Regions from separate parts of the Homo sapiens genome. Here region 1 is linked to region 2. Evidence: promoter capture Hi-C in human tissues and cell types (Jung and others, 2019). All regions are on one chromosome and are shown on one strand. Each heading gives the region's core, a stretch centred on a gene start or on the middle of the fragment in contact. The rest is flanking DNA. Distances are from core to core; before and after follow the strand shown.

Evidence for each region. Contacts are between HindIII fragments. The study calls those that stand out against the background at their distance.
Region 1: a contact is called between a fragment that was not itself captured here and the fragment with the promoter of IL22RA1 in region 2, in 1 of the 25 tissues and cell types used here (aorta).

The regions. Positions count from the first base shown.
Region 1 is chr1:24,764,214-24,771,367 of GRCh38, reverse strand. The region is part of intron 1 of CLIC4 (chloride intracellular channel 4); the gene reads right to left. Among named protein-coding and RNA genes, the nearest start is that of CLIC4, 22 kb to the right of the region's middle. The HindIII fragment of the contact is 4,036 bases long and covers 1,079-5,114 here.
Region 2 is chr1:24,141,150-24,147,767 of GRCh38, reverse strand. IL22RA1 (interleukin 22 receptor subunit alpha 1) reads left to right here and starts at 4,628. Exons shown (of 7, transcript NM_021258.4): 1 at 4,628-4,728. The coding sequence starts at 4,686. The HindIII fragment of the contact is 7,521 bases long and covers 1-6,618 here.

The DNA of each region.
Region 1 (7,154 bases), core at 1,847-4,346, 630 kb before region 2:
TGAGTGGCAGAATATAAAAATGCACAAACTGCCCCAAACAGTAGGAAAGAGTAGTTCTGCTAAGGGAACAACATGGTCAGAGAAGGATTCAGAACAGATTCCAACTTAGGCTTGGAGAACATTTAGTTTCATGAACTGATCCCTAAAACCCCGAAATATGTTAAGCTAAACTTTTTACACAATTAGTTGTATTCCAAAGTATTTATAGTAAGATGCGCCACAGATGTGTGTATATAGTTCTTCTCTTCAGAAGCATAGCACGTTCGTAAGGGCTTGAGTGTTTAGGAATGCTTGCAAAGGGCTCTAAGAAGGAACACAAGAGTTGGAAATAATTATTGTAAGAATGCTTTGGGGGACTTTTCAAAGTCCTTATTTGAGAAGGACATGTGCTGTGACCAGAAGCAGATTTATTCCATCATTCCGTTCTATTACAATCTCTCTAACCAGCCAATCAGAAGAAATCCTATTACCATTTAGCCATACTGAGATCTGCTTTAATGGTTAAAAATGGAATAAACCAAGAAAATACTAAGTAAAACACGTTTCTTACAACTTACAAAGATGAGTCCAGCCTCACAGTAAAAATATGTGACAAAGACTCAAGGATAAAACCAACTCAAAAAACAAAAAAAAAAGAAGAAGAATTGGTGTGAGGAAAATGACAAGGTCAAGAAATTAAAGAAGCTAATTTATTTATAACCTCCCCTCAAAGGGAGGCATAAGTGACTATGCTTCATATACAAAGCAACTTTTTAAAAATTTGTGTGCTTGTTTTACAGAAAGATTCCTTATAATTTTTTTATTCTTTTTTTAAAGAAGCAAAGGCAGGCAGACTATAAGACTAATCAGTTTGGTAAGTGAGCCAAAAGCAAGGGGGGAAAAAACAGATCCAAAAGCACTGGCTGATCTCATTAGCTTTGCTTAAGAAACTTTATAGATGTGACTTCACTCCTGGATTACACGTCTATATTTAGTTTATACCTAATATGGATAAAGTCTTGAACCAACAGTCATTTCCTCTCTCCACAAAAAGAAACTTCCTTGCCTTTTTTTTTTTTTTCTACCAACCTCTGAAGGGGGAGGAAGGGAGAAAGGGAGAGGGCAGAAAGAAAAGAACTCACAGAAAAATAATTAACAAATTAGTATATGATTTTTGTTAAACTTGAACCATTTAGACATTTCTCAATTGGAAAACAATCCTAAAATCAAAATATGTGAGGCCAAGCACAATGGCTCATGCCTGTAATGGGAGGCCAAAGTGGGAGGATAACTTGAGTCCAGGAGTTCAAGACCATCTTAGGCAACACAGTGAGACCTCATCTCCACAAAAAAATTAATTTAAAAAAAATTAGCTGGGCATGGTGGCACTGCAAGTCCCAGCTACTCAGGGAGCTAAAGGAGGAGGATCACTTGAGCCCAGGAGGTCAAGGTGGCAGTGACCTGTGATGACACCACTGCACTCCATCCTGGGCAACAGTGAAACTCTGCCTTAAAAAAAAAAAAGACATTCAAGTCAGGTTCCTTAACAAGTTTATAAATAAACCCTCTAAAGTGCTTTATAAAATACTAATTAACCAGGCCCCCAAAATGCAACGAGGTGAGGTAATGGAAATTTTAGTTGCCTTTCAAATTTTACCAAGAGAACTGAAAGCAACCAAAGTCATCTAATGAACCATCTAGGCTCACTAGTTGTTAGTATGTTTTAGAAATATCCTTAAATATTCTCAGAATTTTTTTTTCAGGGTGACTGAAAACAGAACATAAGAAATTCTGTTAGGAAAGCATTCAAGTTTCAAATAAATAGAGAAAAATAACATAAACAAAGTTATTGATTCAGGTTCTGAAATCCCAAAGACGTTAGTACAAATCACAGTACTGCTACTTACTGGCCCTGCAACCATACCCAAACAATGATCTCTCTAATTCTCATGTGTTAAACAGTATTGATAGCACCTATTTCAAAGTTTATATGAGGATTAAATTAGCTAACACATGCAAACGGCTGGCACACTGTGCCTGGCCCATAGTAAGCACCCAATGCTATCTATTACCTCATGACCATTATTCTGGCTTTAGTAGGGAAACAAAAACTTACTGATCATTTTTTATATATCTGTTTATTCTGTATAGTGATAAATTAAGTAGCTTCAGAAAACTTATAACATTATTATAAAATAAAGATTTTAAAGTCACTTCATGATTCTTACATTATGTTTTTTTGTTTGTTTTCTTTTGTTTTGAGACAGAGTCTCACTCTGCCACCCAGGCTGGAGTGGAGTGGTGCAATCAGAGTGGCTCACTACAGCCTCAATCTCCTGCTTCAGCCCCACTAGTAGCTGAGACCACAGGCATGTGCCACCATGCCCCGCTATTTTTAATTATCATTAAATAAATGATAGAGATTATATCTACCAATTACAGACATGCTAAAGTTTTCTTTCTTTTTCTTTTTTTTTTTTTTTTTGGTGAGGCAGAGTCTCACTCTGTCGCCCAGGCTGGAGTGCAGTGGCACAATCTCGGCTCACTGCAACCTCCACCTCCTGGGTTCAAGTGATTCTTCTGCCTTAGCCTCCCGAGTAGCTGGGACTACAGGCACATGCCACCATGCCTCCTAATTTTTGTATTATGAGTAGAGATGGGGTTTCACCATCTTGGCCAGGCTGGTCTCGAACTCCTGACTGACCGCCTCAGCCTCCCAAAGTACAGGGATTACAGGCGTGAGCCACCGCACCCGGCCGACATGTTAATGTTTTAAGCTTTATCATCTCATTGTGGTATAAGATGAAAAAGTCTAAAAACAATAATCTTAGATAGAGTCTAGAAAAATTAGAAGACTTCATTTTTACTCCTTAAAAATTACTAAATATAAAACCTGTAGATCTACACTATCTCAACTTCTTCCAGACAAATTAAATAAAAAGAGCTTAATCTCTTCTCTTTAAGAGAAATGTAGATGTGTTAAAAATATAAGCACGTCTACATTTCCTTTAAAGAAAGCATTAGATAAAGGCTAGTTAATATATGACCTGTTCAGTTGTAAAGGTGAATACCACAAAAATCAAGAAATAGTGAAATTTGGTAGCACAGGAAGCCAAAATCCATAATTCAAAAGTACTTTTACCCAGCACTTTGGGACGCCACCACAAGGGGATTACTTGAGTTCAGGAATTTGGGACCAGCCTGGGCAACATGGCAAGATCCCCATATCTTAAAAAAATGAAAATTTTGGCTGGGCGTGGTGGCTCATACCTGTAATCCCAACACTTTGGGAGGCCAAGGAGGGCGGATCACCTCATGTCAGGAGTCCGAGATCAGCCTGACCAACATGGAGAAATCCCGTCTCTACTAAAAATACAAAAATTAGCCAAGCGTGGTGGCAAGCGCCTGTAATCCCAGCTACCCGGGAGGCTGAGGCAGAACTGCTTGAACCTGGGAGGCAGAGGTTGTAGTTAGCCGAGATCATGCCACTGCACTCCAGCCTGGGCGACAGAGCGGAACTCCATGCCAAAAAAAATATATATATATATAATTTTAATTAAAAATTTTTAATTAAGAGTATTTGTACAGAACCAATAAGATCCTATGTCATAGATTATTCCTCTTTACTTTTGCACTTTCACATTAACAAAAAAGAGAGAGAGGAAAAAAAGAAAAACATTCTCACTACTAATGGACTCTCAAGCTTTAGCTACAAGTCCAGCAAGAGCTGCTGAGGCCGATGGACTAAGATGGCAGAGTCCAATCTGACTGTCCTTTAGTTACCTAGTAAGTGTCAACAGGATCAGGGTTCACTGAAGTTAATTCAAGAGCAAACTCAAGCTTAACCTTGAACTTTTTTTGTACTAACCCTGCTCTTTTGATAAAGAATGAAAAGTTCCCACCTGGTGGTAGTGGCAGTCTGGCAGATGCTTCTAATCCTGAAGGTTGAAACCACATATGGTATATTGAATATAATAAACTAACCATAGGCCAAGCCAACATGGTCTTAATTCTGCATTCCTAAAGGCAAAATAGTAAGCAAACAAGGCTTACTATGAGTTAGACTCTAAGGGCTTTTCTTATATTAACTCTTATAATCTTTACAAAAGCCCAAGATTACCCCAGTGGGGACACCAAGGCAACTAGTGAAGGGTAGAACTAGGATTCAAACACAGGCCACATGGCTCGGGAGTCCACACTCTTAGCCACTACATCAAGCTTGTCCAACCTGAGGTCCGTGGGCCACATGTGGCCCAGGACCACTTTGAATGAAGCCCAACACAAATCCATAAACTTTCTTAAAACATTATAAGGTTTTTTTGGTTTTTCTTTTCTTTTTCTTTTTTTTTTTTTTTTTTTTTTTTAGCTCATCAGCTATTGTTAGTGTATTTTTTGTGTGGCCCAAGGTAATTCTTCTTCCAGTGTGGCCCAGGGAAGCCAAAAGACTGGACACTGCATACTCTAACAGCATAATACTAAAGATCCAGTCTTCCATTATGATGACTCAATTGCCTACTTGAAATATTAATTCAAATGGTCTTCAATTCCAAAAGAAACTATTTCAGCACCTAGACAGAAATACTGGCTAGGCGTGGTGGCTCACACCTATAATCCCAGCACTTCAGGAGGGCAAGGTGGGCGGATCACTTCACGCCAGGAGTTCAAGACTAGCCTGGCCAACATAGCGAAACTATGTCTCTACTAAAAATACAAAAAAATTAGCCAGTTGCAGTGGCACATGTCTGTAGTCCCAGCTACTAGGGAAGCTGAGGCACAAGAATCACTTGAGCCCAGGAGACGGAGGTTGCAGTGAGCTGAGATTGTGCCACTGCACTCCAGCCTGGGTGACAGAGTGAGACCCCGTCTCAAAAAAAAAAAAAAAAAAAAAAAAAAAAAAAAAAAAAAAAAAAAAAAACCGTCTGGGCAACATAGCAAGACCTGATATCTAAAAAAAAGAAAAAAGGTGCAGTGGCTCATGCCTATATTCCTAGCACTTTGGGAGGCCAAGATAGGTGGATCATTTGAGGTCAGGATTTCAAAATCAGCCTCGCCAACATGGTGAAACCCTGTCTCTATTAAAAATATAGGCCGGGCGTGGTGCCTCACACCTGTAATCCCAGCACTTTGGGAGGCCAAGGTGGGTGGAACAGGAGGTCAAGAGATTGAGACCATCCTGGCCAACATGGTGTAACCCTGTCTCCACTAAAAATACAAAAATTAGCTGGGCGTGGTGGCACGTCTATAGTCCCAACTACTCAGGAAGCTGAGTCAGGAGAATAGCTGGAACTCGGGAGGTGGAGGCTGCTGCAGTGAGCTGAGATCGCGCCACTGCACTCCATCCTGGCAACAGAGCGAGACTCCATCTCAAAAGAAAAAAAACTAAAATTAAAATTTAAACAAATTTTAAAAATTAGCCGGGCATGATGGTGGGCGCCTGTAATCCCAGCTAGTTGGGAGGCTGAGGCAGGAGAATTGCTTGAACCCACAAGGTGGAGGTTGCAGTAAGCCAAGATGGCGTCACTGCTCTCCAGCCTAGGTCACAGAGCGAGACTCTGTCTCAAAAAAAAAAAAAAGAAAGAAAGAAAGAAGAAAAAGAAGGAAAGAAAAATACAAATGATACTTCAAGTAAACAATCATCCCTGGCTCTGATTTTGGGATCTATGATCTCAAATATTTCAAAAGATATAAAGAACTTTTTACATGCAATACGGAGGCAACGGTATAATCTAACACAGGGGTTCCTGCTGAGTCATCAGGACAATAGCTGCTCTCAACACTCCTAATCTTAATGGCTATCAAGCCACATGCTCAGGGTCAAAACACAGTTGCAGACTCTCCCTTAAAACTTTTTTACTTTGCAAGGAAAAACAAGTAAATCTGTTTATTTCAATCTAAAATATGAACTGAGCCCAGTCATTTGCATCACCCTCTCGACCTATTTCTCTGGCTTCTTGTTAGGCATTTGCTTTTTCCCAATCATGTGATCTTTTAGTTCTTCTTTTCCTCCCAACCTCCTCTGAAATTAAGCCTGTGCACGGAAAAAAATAAAAGCTTCTATATATTCCTTCAGCAAACATTTTATTGAGTAACAATCAAATGAGTTAATATTTCATAGATGTAGTCAACACAGTGCCTGGCACATAGAAAGCACTCCATAAATGTATATATTATTTCAATTAAATATGAAATGCTTTTCCATATATACTTCTTCTATCTCATGCATTTAAGAAATCCAACAGAAAACAGTCAATGGGAACAGTATCTATTCTAAATATAGGAAAACCAGATCTTCCTAGAAGTGAAAAGGCCTCCCAGGCAGTGAGTTACAATAACTCTAGTGGAAAATATTATCCCATCTAAGATAATTGTGTATAGTACGCCTTCCTTATAGCTCATTCATTACTGACACCTGAGGGTACATTTTCTTGCTTCCCAGAGCTTAGAGCAGTTCCTAGTAGGCACTTAGTAAAGACATGTTTAATGAAAGATTTTTTAAATTTGTAGTCTCTGTACTTACCAAAAAACCAACAACAACAACAACAACAAACCTGCAGTGAGAGAGAGTTAAAACACAAAGTAAATAAAAACAAATTTAGGGCTTTAGTGGTGAATCTCAAATTTGCTTGAAAGATTATTTTTAATAAAAGACAAAAGAATCAATTTTGGCAGGAATCCAGATGCCCTTCTGTGAAATGCCAGAAGATACCAGAGTATGAATTTTTTTTTTTTTCCCTTGAGATAGGGTCTTGCTCTGTCGCCCAGGGTGGAGTACAGTAGCACTATCTTGGCTCACTGCAAACTTCGCCTCCTGGGCTCAAGCAATCCTCCCACCTCAGCCTCCCAAGTAGCTGGGACCATAGGCGTGTGCCTCAATACACAGCTAATTTTTGCATTTTTTGTGGAGACAGGGTTTCACCATGTTGTCCAGGCTGGTCATGCAATCCACCTGCCTCGCCTCCCAAAGTGCTGGGATTATAAGTGTGAGCCTTGGCCGGACGTGGTGGCTCACACCTGTAATCCCAGCACTTCGGGAGGCCAAGGCAGGTGGATCACCTGAGGTTGGGAGTTCGAGACCACCCTGACCAACATGGAGAAACCCCGTCTCTACTAAAAATACAAAATTAGCCGGGTGTGGTGGCACATGCCTGTAATCCCAGCTACTCGAGAGGCTGAGG
Region 2 (6,618 bases), core at 3,379-5,878:
TACCCAGGAGAGCGAGCTCCAGGCCTTGTCCCTGTAGTCAGTGCCATGGGGAATGGGAAAGCACCATGCAATGCATACTAGGAGATGGGAACACAGAGCTGGTGTTCCCAACCCAACCAAGGGAGCAGCTCACACAGGGGAAGCTTCCTGGTGGAAGTGAATTTAAGCAGAGGCCTGAAGAATGAATCGGAGTGAGACAGGAAAGTGGAGGTGGAAAGGGATTCTCAGAGGCAAGACAGTGCATGGGTGCACTGGAGAAATTTGTCAGAAAACAAGTGCTTTTCCTGGAGGTCTGAGAATCAGCAAGGCGAAACTGCTGCTCTGAAGGTCAACGCTGTAAGTCGATGTTGGATACCTGCTCTACATTCAGCCATGTGGAGGGTACAGAGGAATACCAGCGGGCTCTTTGCAATCAGAATGCTTGACGAGCACCATCCAACTTTGGAGCCCAGAGAACGAGGTTATCTGGGGAACCTCTGCCACTGAAGGCAGCTTCGTTGTGAACACCTCCAGCAGCCAAGACCTTTCTACCTCTCAAGGCAGCCACACCATCATAGCGAGAGTGATTTCCTTAAATTGAAAAAATGGCCTCTCTAATATGTCTCCCCCTGACCACCCTAGTTTTCCTTTTAGAGGTAGTTATACAAAAAAGGTCTAGAGCCTTCTCCATGCAATAGCCCCTCAAATATTTGAAGACGGTGCTCATGTTTCACCTCCACTCCAACTCGAATCTCTCCTGTTCATTCTTTTGTTTGTTTGTTTGTTTGGAGGCAGAGTCTTGCTCTGTCACCCAGGCCAGAGTGCAGTGGCTCAGTCTCGGCTCACTGCAACCTCCGCCTCCCAGATTCAAGCAATTCTCCTGCCTCAGCCTCCCGAGTAACTGAGATTATAGGCATTCGCCACCATGCCCAGCCTTTTTTGTTTTGTTTTGTTTTTTTGTTTTTTTAGTAGAGACGGGGTTTTGCCATGTGGCCCAGGCTGGTCTCGAACTCCTGACCTCAGGCAATGCGCCCACCTCGGCCTCCCAAAGTTCTAGGATTACAGGCATGAGCCACCGAGCCTGGCCTGTTTGTTTTTGAGATGGAGTCTCACTCATTCTGTCGCCCAGGCTGGAGTGCAGTGGCACGATCTTGGCTCACTGCAACCTCCGCCGGGAGTCTAGGGACCCTAGACTCCCTGCTTCTCCTGCCTCATTCTTCCAGATTCTTCCTCATTCTTCCTGATTCTCCCTCATTCTTCCTGATTCTCCTGCCTCAGCCTCCCGAGAAGATGGGACTACAGGTGTGCATCATCATGCCTGGCTAATTTTTGTATTTTTAGTAGAGACAAGGTTTCACCATGTTGGCCAGGCTGGTCTCGAACTCTTGGCCTCAAGTGATCAGCCCATCTCAGCCTCCCAAAGTACTGGAATTACAGGCATGAGCCATGGCGCCTGGCCTCCTTTCCATTCTTGAACATGTAACACAGCTGAAGTATCATAGTGGACAATGCCAAAATGCAGGCCAGACCACATATTCTGGAAGGACTTTGTTTTTAAGTTCGTTTGTTTTTTGAGACAAGGTGTCACTCTGTTGCCCAGGCTGAGTGCTGTGGTGCAGTCATGGCTCACCGCAGCCTTGATCTCCTGGGCTCAAGCAATTCCCTGCCTCAGGCTCCCAAGTAGCTGGGACTACAGGCATGTGCCACCACACCTGGCTAATTTTTTATTATTTATAGAGACAGTGTCTCACTATGTTGCCCAGGCTGGCTTTAAACTCCTGGACTCAAGCGATACTCCCTCCTTGGCCTTCCAAAATGCCGGGATTACAGGCATGAGCCACGGTGCCTGGCCTCTGGAAGGACTTTCAAAGTGAGATGTTATGGGCTGGAGTTATCAAGAAGGGCCATATCGCAGAAGAAAACTGTCTTGGTGAGATTCGAGGAAAAGGGAATTGGCTAAGGGAGTGGAAATGGCATTCCAGGAGGAGGATAGAGCCCCAACAAAGGCTTGTCTTTAATGCCGATTTGTTATGTTTAGTAACCTTGCTTTCCCTTAATATAAATTAGTGTATTTCCTATATTAACTTTAGGAAATGCAGATAAGCAAAGGGAAGAAAAGAAAAATCACCTACAATTCCACTACCACCCAGAGATAACGCCCCTAGTGTTTTCATCTATATCCATGAAGACACGCAGTTTGCTCTGCGTGTGCAGGTGTGCGTTTTAGCCAGGGTGGTACTGTACATAGGTTATGTTATGCCTCTTTTCACTTGAAAAAATATGATGAGTCTTTACCAGGTCACGAAACATTTTTCTCCAGCATTATTTTGGAAGCTGCATTTGTCTTGCTTTGGGTGGACATACCATTATTCTTTTAACCAAACCTCTATTGTCAGACATGGAGGTTGTTTTCATTTTTTTCTCCTTTTTTTTTTTTTTTTTTTTTTTTTTGAGACGGAGTCTCGCTCTGTCGCCCAGGCAGGAGTGCAATGGTGCGGTCTCGGTTCACTGCAACTTCCACATCCTGGGCTCAAGCAATTCTCCTGCTTCAGCCTCCCGAGCAGCTGGGATTACAGGTGCCCGCCACCATGTCCGGCTAATTTTTGTATTTTTAGTAGAGACAGGGTTTCGCCATGCTGCCCAGGCTGGTCTCGAACTCCTGATCTCAGGTGATCTGCCCACCTTGGCCTCCCAAAGTGCGAGATTACAGGCATGAGCCACCACGCCCCACCTATTTTTTTCTTAAACTGTTAGAAATGAAGTCTGGGTGTTCCCACATTCCTTAGCAATCCAGGTGTCTTCCTTCCCGTTAATTCCTACATAACCACAGGCCCTCGAAACTACAGGATGCCCTTTTCCTCCATCAAGTTCCTTCTTCCAGTGCTTCTGAGAGGCCCCAAGGAACACTTTCGTGTTCCACAGACCTGTTGGGGCTGCGTCTTGTCCTCTCGGCCAGCCACTTGGGACCAAAGCCTGCTCTTCTCCCTAAGCGTCCCTTGTAACCTGTTTTTCTCGCTGTAGCTTCCCCACACTGCCTTGTCATCAAAGTCATCAAAAACCCTCTATCCATCATGGTTCATTCAGTAGCACAGAAACCTCTCCAGTCTTTCAGACCAAGGGACTTTAATGTAAAGGAGCTCGTCACCCAGAGGATGAAGGAGCTGGGACACTAATCAGGACAGACAGTTCAGAGATTTCCCCAAAGCAGGAAGCTGTGCCATCCCACCAACTGAAAGGAAAGATGAGGGGAGAAGGTGTTGCCAGAGCCAGGAGCTGGCCTCCAAACAGGAACAAGAAAGACATAAGGGGTTGCCTGGCTGATGGACTGTCCAGAGGGAGCCAGAACTGCAGAGGGATATGGCCATTGCTGGGGAAGCCACTCAAACAGAAAACGAGGGGAGAAATGCTCTGATCTCTGCCTCCCCAGTCTTCCCCCAGGGGCTAAACCTATCAGAAAGCAGTTGATAAAGGAGTCTAGAAAATGTAGTTTCCTGCAGTTTCAGGAAATGACTGGCATGGGCCCTACCTTAATTCCTCCAAAGCACAGCTTAGATTTGGCTGTTTTGTCAAACAAACTTTAGCAATCAGGGCTGATAACAATTACAATTCAGGAAAGAAAAACTTAAACACCGATCTCAGCATATCACAGCCCATTACACCCAACCCGTTGGCAGGATCCCTGCTAAAATTTCGCTTGCCTTTGTGTGCTTGGGGCCAGGCAAACTCTCCCCAGGGGCAGGACCCTCCAATCGTGTCCACCCTGACCAGAGTCCAGGCCCCAGGGCCCTTCTACCTTCTCCAGGCCCTGCAGGAAGGAGAAAACCATTTCCTAAACACCTGTCCCTTCATTCACACGAAGCTCATGTGCAGATCCTGCCCTACGTGGCAAAATGATGGGAGAGCAGCCTGAATCTTCATCGTCCCGAACCAAAGCCCCATTCATGAAGTTCAGCCCCATCTCTAGCACAGCAGAAAGAATCACTGAAGTTTGAGTTCCATTTTTTTTCTAAACTTTTGCAGATCCTAGACCCAAAGGCTCAAGGTAAGAGCGGCTGGGCTTCCTCACCCCCAACGGCCTCTCTAGGGGAGAGCTGTTCCCAAGCCCACCCCAAGCGTGGGGACCTGCCTTGATATGGAGGATCAAGGAGGAGCATCGGGTGCCCTCAATCTCCTCCTGCCAGAAAAGCAAAGGAGTCACAGCTTTTCCTTTGCTGCAAGAAACATTCTGGGACCTTTTTTTTCCCCCTCTGTTGTCCAGTTATTTTCATCAGGGTAAATCCCCTAGGAATAGAATTATTAAAGCAAAAGATATGTATGTGGTGTAGGCTTTTGATCCACAGTGCCAAATTGCTTTTTGATAAGGCTGCATATCGTGGATTATTCTTGCCTTTTCTGCCCCTCAGCTCCTTGATAAACCACTTGGGATGAATCAGCCACCGGACCAGATAAACAAGCCAGCCTGTTACTATTGCTGTTTTCTGCAAGTCGGAAGGGAACTCCCTTAGATCCCGCCCAGAACCTGGAATTCCAGAGCACACAGGGCCAGGACACCTTTGTACCCCTGCTCCCCACCGGCACAGGTCCCACCCACCCCCTTCTCCCCGCCCCATGCCCGGGTGGAGCCAGCTGCCAGGGCGCCAAGACTCCCAGCCCTCTCTCTGTGCACGGCAGAGTAGAGGCCAAGGGAGGGCTCTGTGCCAGCCCCGATGAGGACGCTGCTGACCATCTTGACTGTGGGATCCCTGGCTGGTGAGTGCCCATCTACCCTGTGGTCAGACCTCCCTTATCCCAGGGGCCAACGATCAGGGTCATCTCCCCAGCACCCTCCCCAGCCCGAGCATAGCCAGTTTCAGTTTCTCCCCTGCTAGGGCTGAGCAGGGTGCCGGGTGTTCACGGAGAAGCAAATGCCCAGCTTAGTTTGCTGGGGGCATGAGAGGGTGCCTCAGACCCTGGGTTCTTCCAGGGACCCAAAGGACCCTCGGGTCTTGAGGGATATAGCCAGCTGTCTGAACTGGGGGTGCTGGATCGCTGCACCTCAGTGAATGGAGAATTGGCCTGGAGGAGGCAGACATCCTTCGGTCCCTCAAACGGTGTCGGCACAGTTTGTACCATCCTTCCTCTGCCTCTCACTTGGCACTGGCCTGACAGGGGAGGAGGAGGAAGGACCGGGGGAAACGAAGCTTGAGTTCACTATTGCCTCCCTCCATGCCCCTGCAGGGCCTCTTTGGCCCCTTTTGTTATCATAGATCTGAAAGAGCATTTTCTCCTAGAGTGGCCAGGTCTGCTACATTAATAGGTCTTAAGACACAGGACTCATTTGGAAACAGGTCTTAAGGGCATAGTGTTCAAAGCCAATAAAGTGAGCGGAGTGGGGGGCTCATCATTATGGAGAACGTTACATGAGACCCTAGACTCTCTCTCTGCTCTCCTGGTGCATTGCATGAAATTCAGGGAACTTCCTTAGGAAGTCAAAGCATAGTCCTGATTGAGGATGGCGAGCAGGTATGGCCTCGGCCAGGCCCTCCTTGCTCAAGTGCAGGACGAGGCCCACGAAAAGGCAGAGCTTCCCACCTTCTCTGCCACTGTCCCGCCAGGGCTGCCTGCGTCTCCAGGGCTTCCAGCTCTGTGGGACCCCCTCCAGTCTGCTTCCCAGCATCAAGCTGGGCGTTCCAGGAAGATGTGAGGCACCCCCTTGAGGCACCAAGACACGTCCCTTTAGACCCTCAGCCATACTGGTTAGAAATCCTAGAGGCTCCCAGCCCTTTGAGATGGGGGACCCCAAGAAATAGCCCTTAGGAGATTGTCAAGGGTCAGCTGCCTCGCGCTGCACACACCGGGCCCTCACCCCCCCAATCTTAGGCTGACTCCAGAGCATGTGGAATTGTTTCTTGTTTGTGTATTTTTCCTTAGCTTCCCAGCTGGTTGACAGAACATTGTTTTTCCACATGAATGTGAAAAAACAAGTTGCCTTTTATAAATCCGCCAGGCTGCCAGGCTCCACACAACACATGTCTCCCCAGATTTCACAATATAGACTTTCACCCGGGAAGTGCCGAAGCAACACAGGCTGAGGAATGGATGATAGATTTGAGGAGGAAAAGGAGCGAGGAGGGTGGGAGAAGAGGGGGAGATCTTGTTAGACCCTGACATCCCTAAAAGACAGGAGTGGGCCTAGGTTCACTTACCCCACTTCAGGAAGCTAACTGCAGTTCCCTCCTGAAAAGTGGTGCCAACCTCCACGTAGCCCAGGGTCCTTTGCCTTGGCAACATGCCCCCACCTCAGCCACCAGCCTCCTTGCAACCCAGATGGGCCCTCTATTTCCCACCCAGAACACTGACCTCAACCAGCAACCGTTCCCGCTGCAGACTCTACCCCAAGCCTTGATGGAGCCTGGCTTCTCAAAGCCCACCCTCACCCTTCTGCCCTGACCCACCACCCAACCAGAAGCCACTGTTCAGGTCTGACCTTGACTGGACTCCTTTCCTCAACTTTAGACTCAGCCCTGAATCCAGGACCCCTCCCTCCAGAACTGACCCCAATTCCACCCAGCCTCACATCCAAACAAGATGTCAGCTACATCCTAAGGCTCCACGGCACAGCCGTCACCTTGCGTAGAGGCAGTAGACCCCTCCCCGCGC